Regions from separate parts of the Homo sapiens genome. Here region 1 is linked to region 2. The links are contacts of gene promoters, found by promoter capture Hi-C in blood cells and fetal thymus (Javierre and others, 2016). All regions are on one chromosome and are shown on one strand. The core of a region is centred on a gene start or on the middle of the fragment in contact, and the rest is flanking DNA. Distances in the headings are between cores, read along the strand shown.

What was found. The method cuts DNA at HindIII sites, captures the fragments that hold promoters and counts their contacts. A CHiCAGO score of 5 or more calls a contact.
Region 1: a contact is called between a fragment that was not itself captured here and the fragment with the promoter of PRDX2 in region 2, in 2 of 17 cell types (monocytes and neutrophils). The highest score is 6.1, in monocytes.

Annotation. Positions count from the first base shown.
Region 1 is chr19:12,764,856-12,770,276 of GRCh38, reverse strand. HOOK2 (hook microtubule tethering protein 2) reads left to right here. Exons shown (of 23, transcript NM_013312.3): 11 at 195-396; 12 at 2,154-2,264; 13 at 2,374-2,461; 14 at 2,813-2,882; 15 at 4,037-4,174; 16 at 4,263-4,350; 17 at 4,443-4,448; 18 at 4,553-4,587; 19 at 5,196-5,278; 20 at 5,360-5,421. Among named protein-coding and RNA genes, the nearest start is that of HOOK2, 8.0 kb to the left of the region's middle. RefSeq lists a silencer at 294-523 and an enhancer at 4,203-4,748. The HindIII fragment of the contact is 2,554 bases long and covers 2,651-5,204 here.
Region 2 is chr19:12,800,038-12,804,764 of GRCh38, reverse strand. PRDX2 (peroxiredoxin 2) reads left to right here and starts at 2,965. Exons shown (of 6, transcript NM_005809.6): 1 at 2,965-3,025; 2 at 3,495-3,606; 3 at 3,696-3,849; 4 at 4,466-4,588. The coding sequence starts at 3,504. THSD8 (thrombospondin type 1 domain containing 8) reads right to left here and starts at 2,696. Exons shown (of 2, transcript NM_001386800.1): 1 at 2,546-2,696; 2 at 376-661. The coding sequence starts at 2,693. The coding sequence ends at 462. RefSeq lists silencers at 2,618-3,007, 3,017-3,202, a cis regulatory region at 2,605-3,154 and enhancers at 2,802-3,360, 3,688-3,887. The HindIII fragment of the contact is 3,955 bases long and covers 2,250-4,727 here.

The sequences.
Region 1 (5,421 bases), core at 2,678-5,177, 35 kb after region 2:
GCTAACCATTGCTGTAATGACTCTCAACAGCTCCAGGCCCTGATTGACCCCTAACCCTCAACTTTCATGACCCCTTCACCTTGAACCCAAAAGCCTCAGGCTGAACAACACCCTGTGCTCCAAGGGCCACTCCACATCCCAGCTGACCCCTGATCAGAGCTCTCAGCCCTCCCCCTTCCCTCCCACTCCCCTAGGCAGTCTTCGGAGCGTGCTGGGCAGCTGGAGGCCACGCTGACCAGTTGCCGGCGCCGCTTGGGCGAGCTGAGGGAGCTGCGGCGGCAGGTGCGGCAGCTGGAGGAACGCAACGCCGGCCACGCCGAGCGCACGCGACAACTGGAGGATGAGCTACGCCGAGCGGGCTCCCTGCGCGCCCAGCTGGAGGCGCAGCGGCGGCAGGTGCGGCGGGGGCGGGGTTAGGGCCGGGGCCCCGCCCCTGGCAGCAAGTCTCTCACCGTTGGCCAGCCCTCCGCCCACCCCTGATCCCCTCCCTTATTTGTACGTAGGCCACGCTCTCCGGGCCTCTTCCCTCCACCCACGCTGCTCTTCTGTCTGGGTTAGTAAGCCCAGCCTTTCCCTTCCCTTAAGTACCGCTCCTCTAAATTCTTTGATGCCCGCCGCTTCACCATGCTGCTTGATTTCCTTGGGGCTACCTAACCATGTAACAAAACTCGTGGTAAATTGAAAATATCCTAAAATGCATAAAGGCCAGGCCTGGTATCCCAGCGCTTTGGGAGGCTGAGCCGGGAGGATCACTTGAGCCCAGGATTTCGAGGTTGTAGTGAGCTGTGGCTGCATCACTGCATTCCAGCCTGGGTGACAGGGTGAGACCCTGACTCAAACAAAAGAAAAAGACCGGGTGCGGTGGCTCGCGCCTGTAATCCCAGCACTTTGGGAGGCCAAGGCGGGCACCCCATAACTCCTTCTGTAACCCCACATCACTTGAGGCCAGGAGTTTGAGACCATCCTGGCCAACATAGCAAAACCCTGTCTCTACTTAAAAATAGAAAAATTAGTCTGGGCGTGGTGGCTCACTCCTGTAATCCCAGCACTTTGGGAGGCCGAGGCGGGTGGATCCCGAGGTCAGGAGATCGAGACCATCCTGGCTAACACGGTGAAACCCCATCTCTACTAAAAATACAAAAAATTAGCCGGGCGTGGTGGTGGGCGCCTGTAGTCCCAGCTACTCGGGAGGCTGAGGCAGGAGAATGGTGTGAACCCGGGAGGCGGAGCTTGCAGTGAGCCGAGATCGTGCTACTGCACTCCAGGCTGGGCGACAGAGCAAGACTCCGTCTCGAAAAAAAAAAAAAAAAAAATTAGCCGGGCTGGTGGCGCGCGCCTGTAATCCCAGCTACCCAGAAAGCTGAAGCACGAGAATAGCTTGAACCTGGGAGGTGGAAGTTGCAGTAAGCCAAGATCGCATCACTGCACTCCAGCCTGGTTGAGAGAGGGAGACTGTCTCAAAAGAAAAAAGTAAAAGATATTAAAAAAAGAAAAAGAAAAAGAGAGCTGGGCGTGGTGACTCATGCCTATAATCCCAGCACTTTGAGAGGTTGAGATGGGAGATCGCTTGAGGCCAGCAGTTCGAGAACACCCTGGTCAAGATAGCGAGATTCCATCTGTTTTCAAAAAATAAAAATTTTTAAATTTTTTTTAAAAAAGAAAATCCATTGAACATACTTTACCTACTGAGCATCACAGCCTAGCCTAGCCTACCTTAAACATGCTCAGAAAACTTACCTTAGCCTAGTTTGGCAAAATCATCTACCATAAAGCCTATTTTATAATAAAGCGTTGACTATATAACGCAATTTATTGAAGACTAATTCATTGCAATTGAAAAACAGAATGGTTGTATGGGTTCCTACTATTAACATTCACAGTCGGCTGGGTGCAACGGCTCACACCTGTAATCCCAGTGCTTTGGGAGGCTGAAGTGGGAGGACTGCTTGAGGCCAGGAGTTTGAGATCAGCCAGGGCAACAGAGGGAGACCCTGTCTCTAAAAAAAACAAGCAAAAACATACACAGCTGAAAGCACCATAGTAAAGTCAAAAAAATAATAAGTCAAAGCATCCTGGATCGGGGACCATTTGTACTCAGCCCCTGCCCCTGCTCCCAGCCCTGCTGTCCTTATTCCTCCCCTCTCTGTGTTCAGGTGCAGGAACTGCAGGGCCAGCGGCAGGAGGAGGCCATGAAGGCCGAGAAATGGCTATTTGAATGCCGCAACCTGGAGGAAAAGTATGAGTCGGTGACAAAGGAGAAGGAGGTGAGGCTGAGGTTCCACTGCCCAAGCCCCACCCTGCCAATTCTGGGGTAGCCCATTTCCCAGGAGGCCGAGCCTGACCCGTGGAGTGTCTTGTACCCTGTCCCTGCAGCGGCTGTTGGCGGAGCGGGACTCCTTGCGGGAGGCCAATGAGGAGCTGCGCTGCGCCCAGCTGCAGCCGCGGGGGTTGACCCAGGCCGGTGAGATGAAGCCCCATCCCGGGGTCTTACCTGTCCTGGTGTACTGTTTGGGTAGAACAGGTTGTGTCCCAGTGCATGTCTAGGTTGGGGACAGAGCTAGGCCAGGCTGGAGGTGACCAGAAAGAGGTGACACGGTCAAATTGAAGAGAGAGGCTCAGGGTCTCAGGGTGGAGCAAAGGCTAAAAAGCTTGGCCAACCCTCCCGGTTCTCTATCAAGCCGGGGATGGAGCTTGTGTCAAGCCAGACTGTTGGCTGAACTTGAAGCCCCAAAAGATGATCCTTGGGAAGAAGACCCTAGGGGCGGGGACAGGGGATGCGAAGAGACCTGAAGACTTTTCTCGCATTCTTCAGATCCCTCACTGGATCCCACCTCCACACCCGTGGATAACTTAGCCGCAGAGATCCTGCCTGCGGAGCTCAGGTATCCTGGGGTCACTCAAAACTCTGGCCCCACCCAGGCTTGCCAAGGCCCGCCCTCAGCCCCGCTCCCGCCCTCCCATCTTCTGCTAGCCCCGGTTGCTTGGTCTCAGCTCCAGGTGCCAGCCGGGCTCCTAGGCCCACTTACTCCTGATTTGGCTCTGTCCAGCCCTACCAGATGACTTTGCCTCTCAAGGGTCTATCCTTAGTACACAAATTATGTCCAACACCTGGCTCCAGTTCCTGCACAAAAATCCTATGCCCTAGCCCCGCTGACTTTGATCCTTTCCCCCAGCGTCCACCCCTGTTAGTGTAACCTCTGTGAGTTTCAGTCCCCTGTGCCCTGCCGGGATTAACTCTCCCACCCCGGGCCAGGCACGGTGGATCATGCCTCTAAGTCCCAGCACTTTGGAAGGCCGAAGCTGGAGGATCACTTGAGCCCAGGAGTTTGAGAGCAGCTTGGGCAACATAGTGGCCCTCTCTACAAAATAAAAATGATTTAAAAACCCGAAAAACGACCGGGCGCGGTGGCTCACGCCTGTAATCCCAGCACTTCGGGAGGCCAAGGCGAGCGGATCACAAGGTCAGGAGATCGAGACCATCCTGGCTAACACGGTGAAACCCCGTCTCTACTAAAAATACAAAAAATTAGCCGGGTGTGGTGGCACGCACCTGTAGTCCCAGCTACTCGGGAGGTTGGGGCAGGAGAATCGCTTGAACCTGGGAGGCAGAGGTTGCAGTGAGCCGAGATCGCGCCACTGTATTCCAGCCTGGGCGACAGAGCGAGACTCCATCTCAAACAAACAAAAAGCCAAAACTAACCAAACAAACAAACAAAAAAACCCCGAAAAACTGTCCCATCCTAGTTCTTCCCATTTCTGCTTCCCGCTTTCCAGCAGTCCCATCCCAGCTGTTCGAATCCACTCTTGTAGCTCCGCCCCTGCCTAGCCCCACCCACTATCCCAGCTTAGAGCTCCGTCCACTTTAACCCTGGGCCGGGAACCTGAACCCGTAGTAGGTCCTCGGTGCTCCAACCCCATGGTCTGGCTGGGCTCTTCCCCAGGGCTCTGTCCCGCCCCTAGCTCCACTCTCCCTGAGCCCCAGCGAGCCTGCGAGGTGACTCGACCCTGGCCCTGCTCTCTCCTCCCGGGTCTGCAGGGAGACGCTCCTGCGGCTTCAGCTGGAGAACAAGCGGCTGTGCAGGCAGGAGGCGGCCGACCGGGAGCGGCAGGAGGAGCTGCAGCGCCACCTGGAGGATGCCAACCGCGCGCGCCACGGGTTGGAGACGCAGCACCGGTGAGCGCCTGGGGACCTACCTGCGCGGAGCAGGGACAGAGGGGGCCAAAAGTGGGCACAGGCACTAAGCGGCCCCCCACCCTCGCAGGCTGAACCAGCAGCAGCTATCCGAGCTGCGGGCCCAGGTGGAGGACCTGCAGAAAGCCCTGCAGGAGCAGGGGGGCAAGACTGAAGATGTGAGTGTCACCCACCACCTCCCAGCCTGGCCCTCCCTTGTGCCCCGAAGTAACCCTCCTCTCTCTCCCATGCTGCCCGATGCCCCATACAGGCCATTGTAAGTACCATGGGCCCAGGATGGCACCCCCTACCCTCACCCTGGGAAGGAAGAATTAGGGCCTCTCTGGATCCCCCACTCACCTTGCCTCTTCTCTCTCCCAGTCCATTTTGCTGAAAAGGAAGCTGGAGGAACATTTGTAAGTCGCAGAAAGAGGGAACTCCTCGTGGGGGCATGGATTTGATATTAGTGGGGAGTTTCTTAGGCATGTGCCACCATGCCTGGCTGATTTTTTATATTTTTAGTAGAGACGGGGTTTCACTATGTTGGCCAGGCTGGTCTCGGACTCCTGACCCCAGATGATCCACCCGCTTTGGCCTCCCAAAGTGCTGGGATTACAGGCATGAGCCACCGCGCCTGGCCTGCTTTCTTTTCTTTTACCTGTCTGCTATTGAAGAGATTTGTATTCTAGAAAGATCCCTGGCTGCTGGATGGAGTGCTTGAGAGTAGAAGAAGCTAGCAAGGGAAGATGGTGGCTGAACCAGCTTGGGAGCTGTGGGATGGGAAGAAGTGGACAGCAGGGGCTGTTCCGGGGCATACCTGCTAAGGGTGCGGAGGGTTGTGGCTCTGACAGCTGTGGAGCCGGTGGGACCAGGGCACACAGCCCCAGGCATGAGGGGCAGGCAGAGAGGGCTCTGTGGCCATGTAGGGGCATTTCTGGCTGGCGGGGAGGTCTGTGGCTACCACTGGGACAAAAGAGAAGCCAGCCCGGAGGTCAGCCCACTGCTGCTCATCCCCGGCCCACAGGCAGAAGCTTCATGAGGCAGATCTGGAGTTGCAGAGGAAGCGGGAGTACATTGAGGAGCTGGAGCCACCCACTGACAGCAGCAGTAAGTAGGACCTAGTGACCAGAGGGTGGGGAGATCCCAGAGCCCAGCAGCGTGGAGCTGATGGGCCACCTCTTCCGCCAGCAGCCCGGCGGATCGAGGAGCTGCAGCATAACTTGCAGAAGAAGGACGCGGACTTGCGGGCC
Region 2 (4,727 bases), core at 1,716-4,215:
GTTTCACCGTTTTAGCCAGGATGGTCTCGATCTCCTGACCTTGTGATCCGCCTGCCTTGGCCTCCCAAAGTGCTGGGATTGCGGGCGTGAGCCACCGCGCCCGGCCTAATTTTAAAAATTTTTATGGAGAGGTGATCTCAACGATATTGCCCAGACTAATCTTGAACTCCAGGACTCAAGAGATCCGCCTGCCTCGGCCTCCCAAAATGCTGGAATTACAGGCGTGAGCCCCGGCGCCCGGCGCCCCCTCCACTTTTCTCCTTTTCTCCCTAGATATCAGCGGGGCTCACGGCTCCTGACTCAGCTTCCCCCTAACCAAATCAGCCTCAAGTCACTCAAGACTTGGAGCCCCAGTTCTCCCTTCCTCAAACTCGCTTCATACCCGCCCCGCACCGCACATCCTCCCTCCGCGCCCACCCTGGGCCCCGCAACTTGCCCCGGCCCTGCTCTCTCACCCGGGCTCAGAGCCTCCAGTCGCAGTCGAAGGGCTTGCAGGATGGACAATCCCGTTGCCGGCAGGGCCGTAACTGGATCAGCTTCTCCGGGTCCATGAAAACCGGGCCCGGCGCTGTGCCCACTACCTCGCGGCTGCGCTCCTGCTTGCCCAGGTCGCAGAGACACCGCCACTTTCCCCACGGGCCAAGGATTGAGTCCTCGACTTCTAGAGAAGGAGGGCAGAGGTGAAGACCTACGTGGAGGGGGCCTACTCCCAATCCCCTCCCCCAGAGAGGGAGAAAGATAAAGATACTAACGAATAAGAGAAGCACATATTCGCTAGACTCTGCTTCTATGCCAGACACCCTGCCACAGATTATCTCATTTAAGCTTTTTTTTTTTTTTTTTTTTTTTTTTTGAGACAGGGTCTCGCTCTGTCGCCCAGGCTGGAGTGCAGTGGCGCAGTCACAGCTCACTGCAGCCTCAACCTCCTGGGCTCAAGCAATCCTCCTACCTCGGCCTACCAAGTAGCTGGGACTACAGGCACATGCCACTGTGCCTGGCTAATTTTTTGTATTTTTTGCAGAGACGGTGTTTCACCATGTTGCCCAGGCTGGTCTGGAACTCCTGGGCTCAAGTGATACTCCCATCTCAGCCTCCCAAAGTGCTGGGATTACAGGTGTGAGCCAGCCACCATGCCTGGCCTCATTTAATATTTCCACGAGTCTCAGGTGGGGAAACCAAGACCCAGAGACAGCAAGCCAACCTTCCAAGCTCATATACGGGGTAAGTGGGCCAGAGGAACTACAACCTGACACTTCCAGGCTGTGCCAGCCTGCCCAGTTGTGAGTGTCCTACAACATCCTTGGTGCCCGCCATTTGAAGCTGACTTCTGTCTTCAGGGGTGTGACCATGGCCCTACCTAGAAGGCACAATGCCACCTGACAGCAGGGTTGTCAAGTGATAAATGGCATAATTGACATAATGAAGGTAAGTAAATCTCCCGGTGCTGTGCTAGCATATACAAACCAATTTATTATGATCAGTTTGTTTATTTATTTAATTTATTTATTTTGAGACAAGATCTTGCTCTGTTACCCAGGTTGGAATGCAAGGGCATAATCATGGCTCACTGCAGCTTCAAACTCCTTGGCACAAATGGTCCTCCTGTATCAGCCTCTTGAGTAGCTGGGACTACAGGCGCATGCCACCATGGCAGGCTAATTTATTTTTTATTTTTATTTATTTATTTATTTTTGTAGAGTAGGGGGTCTCTCCATGTTGCCCAGGCTGGTCTTGAATTCCTGGGCTCAAGCAGTCCTCCCGCCTCGGCCTCCCAAAGTGCTGGGCCATCAAGTCAGGCTAATTTTAAAATATTTTTTGTAGAGATGGAGTCTTGCTGTGTGGGCCAGGCTGGTCTGGTCTCCGAGACCAAGGGATCCTCCCACCTCAGCCTCCCAAAGTGCTAGGATTATAGGCGTGAGCTACCGCGCCGGCCACTGTGATCACTTTAAAGGGCTCTTTACTGAATCTGCCCCTTTCCCCTATGAGACAGATCTTATCCCAACTCCGATCTTATCCCAACTCACCGCTCACCAAGGTCTGACACCTCCTACCCTCCCACACCCATGTCTCTGCCACACCTCACCGACCTCTTTCCATTTCTCCTTCAGGACTTTTCACCTTGGCATTTGCTATTCCCTCTTCCTTGGACATTCTTTCCCCAAATCTTTCCATATGGGACTTTCGCTTGTCGTTCTCGCTGCACTGGTCACGGGTCTTCTGCAATCGGACCCTCTCTGATTTCCCAAGCTTGCCCGCCCCCTTCTTTCTCTGTCTCTGCCCTTCCTGGCACCTATCCCCGAGTGACAGCTTCAGTGTCCTGCCCACACCCTCTCTTCCCCTGGGAGCTGCTTTAAAGCAGTATCTATTTCAATATATCCAAGAGTAAACCGAGCCTTAGAGAAAAGTAACCAGCCCAAGGGGACGCCTCCAGTGCGGAGCTGGGTGGAGATTTGCAGCCCGCCGAGGAAGGTCCCTTTGCAGCCAGCAGGAGAAGTAGGGCAACGGGGAGCCTTTGGGCATCGTCATCCCCGCCGCCTGAGGTTACCCTTTAGATGCTGCAGCCTCAGCTGCTCCCAGCTGTCACCTTCGCCCTGCTGCCCTAAGTACTGATAGTCCTGGTAGACCAGGGCAGGGGTCGCCAGCTGCAGGAGTAGCAGAGGCGCCAGCAGCAGCGCCCCCGGGGTCCGCGCCATGCTGGACTCCAACGGCCCCCAACGCGCTCCCAGGCGGAGTCGTGCGCGGAGTCTGCGGCGGGCGCATTACCCACGCGGGCAGGTGCAGTGGTCCCGGCCGAAGGCAACGCGTCTCCCCCCGCCGCCCGCAGGCGCATGGACCCGGCCGCACGCTCCCCCGCACCTGCGGGCGCAGTGGACCCGACCGCTCCGCTCGTCCGCTCCCTCCCCCGCGCCGTGCACGTCTTGGTTCGGGCCGGGCATAAAAGGCTTCGCGGCCCAGGGCTCACTTGGCGCTGAGAACGCGGGTCCACGCGTGTGATCGTCCGTGCGTCTAGCCTTTGCCCACGCAGGTATGAACACCCGGAGTGCACCTGGCGGGAGGACCCCCTTCAGGCTGCTTTGGCCCGATCCTGACTTTAGTGCTGGCCGCCTTTGCTTTCCATCCGCTATAGTGGCCTCCTTTGTCCTTGCGGGGGAAACCGAGGCCACAGCCTTGCAGCGCAGGCCTGATCGCCCGACTTCCCGCCCCCTGCTCGTGCGGGCCTCACTGTCTCCTTCTGGGCTGGGGGCTTGCGACACCGCCCTCCGGCCGACTCGCTCGTGGGGTGCTGGTGGCAGTGGCTGGGTCACTCGTGCTCTGGTCAGGAGAGCGGGTCTCCGGCAGCCTCCGGGCCTCGTAGACCGGGTACCCGGGAGGGTGAGGGTTAGTGCTGTCGCCTCCGCCGTGCTGACTCAGTCATAGGGCCCAGCACGCAGCGCGACCTTGGGTTGGGAGGACAAAGTGTCTTCCCGGGCGCACTGACCGGGCGGGGGTCTCAGCTTTCAGTCATGGCCTCCGGTAACGCGCGCATCGGAAAGCCAGCCCCTGACTTCAAGGCCACAGCGGTGGTTGATGGCGCCTTCAAAGAGGTGAAGCTGTCGGACTACAAAGGTGAGCGCCGCCCGGAGGGGGCCCAGGTAGAAGCGGGGCCGTGCATGAGAGAAGCTGGGCCCTAACTCCTCTGTGTCCCTCCTCCCCAGGGAAGTACGTGGTCCTCTTTTTCTACCCTCTGGACTTCACTTTTGTGTGCCCCACCGAGATCATCGCGTTCAGCAACCGTGCAGAGGACTTCCGCAAGCTGGGCTGTGAAGTGCTGGGCGTCTCGGTGGACTCTCAGTTCACCCACCTGGCTTGGTATGAGCAGGGGCCAAAGAGGGAGGTTGCAGCTAAGCTCACACCCTCAGGTCCTAGCAGTGTGGCTTCGTGGCCATTGCTCAACCTCTGGAACCTGCGTTTCCCCATCGTGAAAATAATGGAAACATTGCCGCCCAAGTCTTTAAGGATGATGACAGTAATTAGCATTTGACAACTAGTTGCCTGGTATATAGAGTTGCAGATGCAACTCAGATGCAACTCTATCTACTCTATGTACTTAGTTCCCAGGAGGGAGGCTGTGCTGCCCTATTTCATGAAGATGGAAACTCCAGTTCACCGAAGTGAAGGGCTGTACCCCATGACACAGCTAGAGGAGGATGGGGACTCTTAACACAGGCTCTCTGCTGGGTGATGCTGCAAGTTACAAGTACATGTGAAGCCACTTAGCTGGAGCTGTGCCTCTCAAACTCAGTCTTCCCAGCCATGGGGATACAGTCCTTGCACCCAACCCAGGGTGGGGTGGGTGAGGCTCCCAGCGGCCTACTCTAAAGCCCCTTATCTCCGGCCTCCAGTGCTTATCACATTGGGCCCACAGGGTGAGGACCCTGCTGTGCCAGGCATCCTGAGGCCCCAACTCTGTCTCCCCTACTCCCAGGATCAACACCCCCCGGAAAGAGGGAGGCTTGGGCCCCCTGAACATCCCCCTGCTTGCTGACGTGACCAGACGCTTGTCTGAGGATTACGGCGTGCTGAAAACAGATGAGGGCATTGCCTACAGGTACTGTGGGACCCTCAGCCCGGCTCAGGGAGCGCCCTGCCCCCCATTCCTGTGATGCTGGGACCACTCCTGTACAATGTCTTCTCTGCCCCCAGCCCTGTGGCTAGCAGCGGGTGGTTGGTAGTCCCTTCCTTGTCTC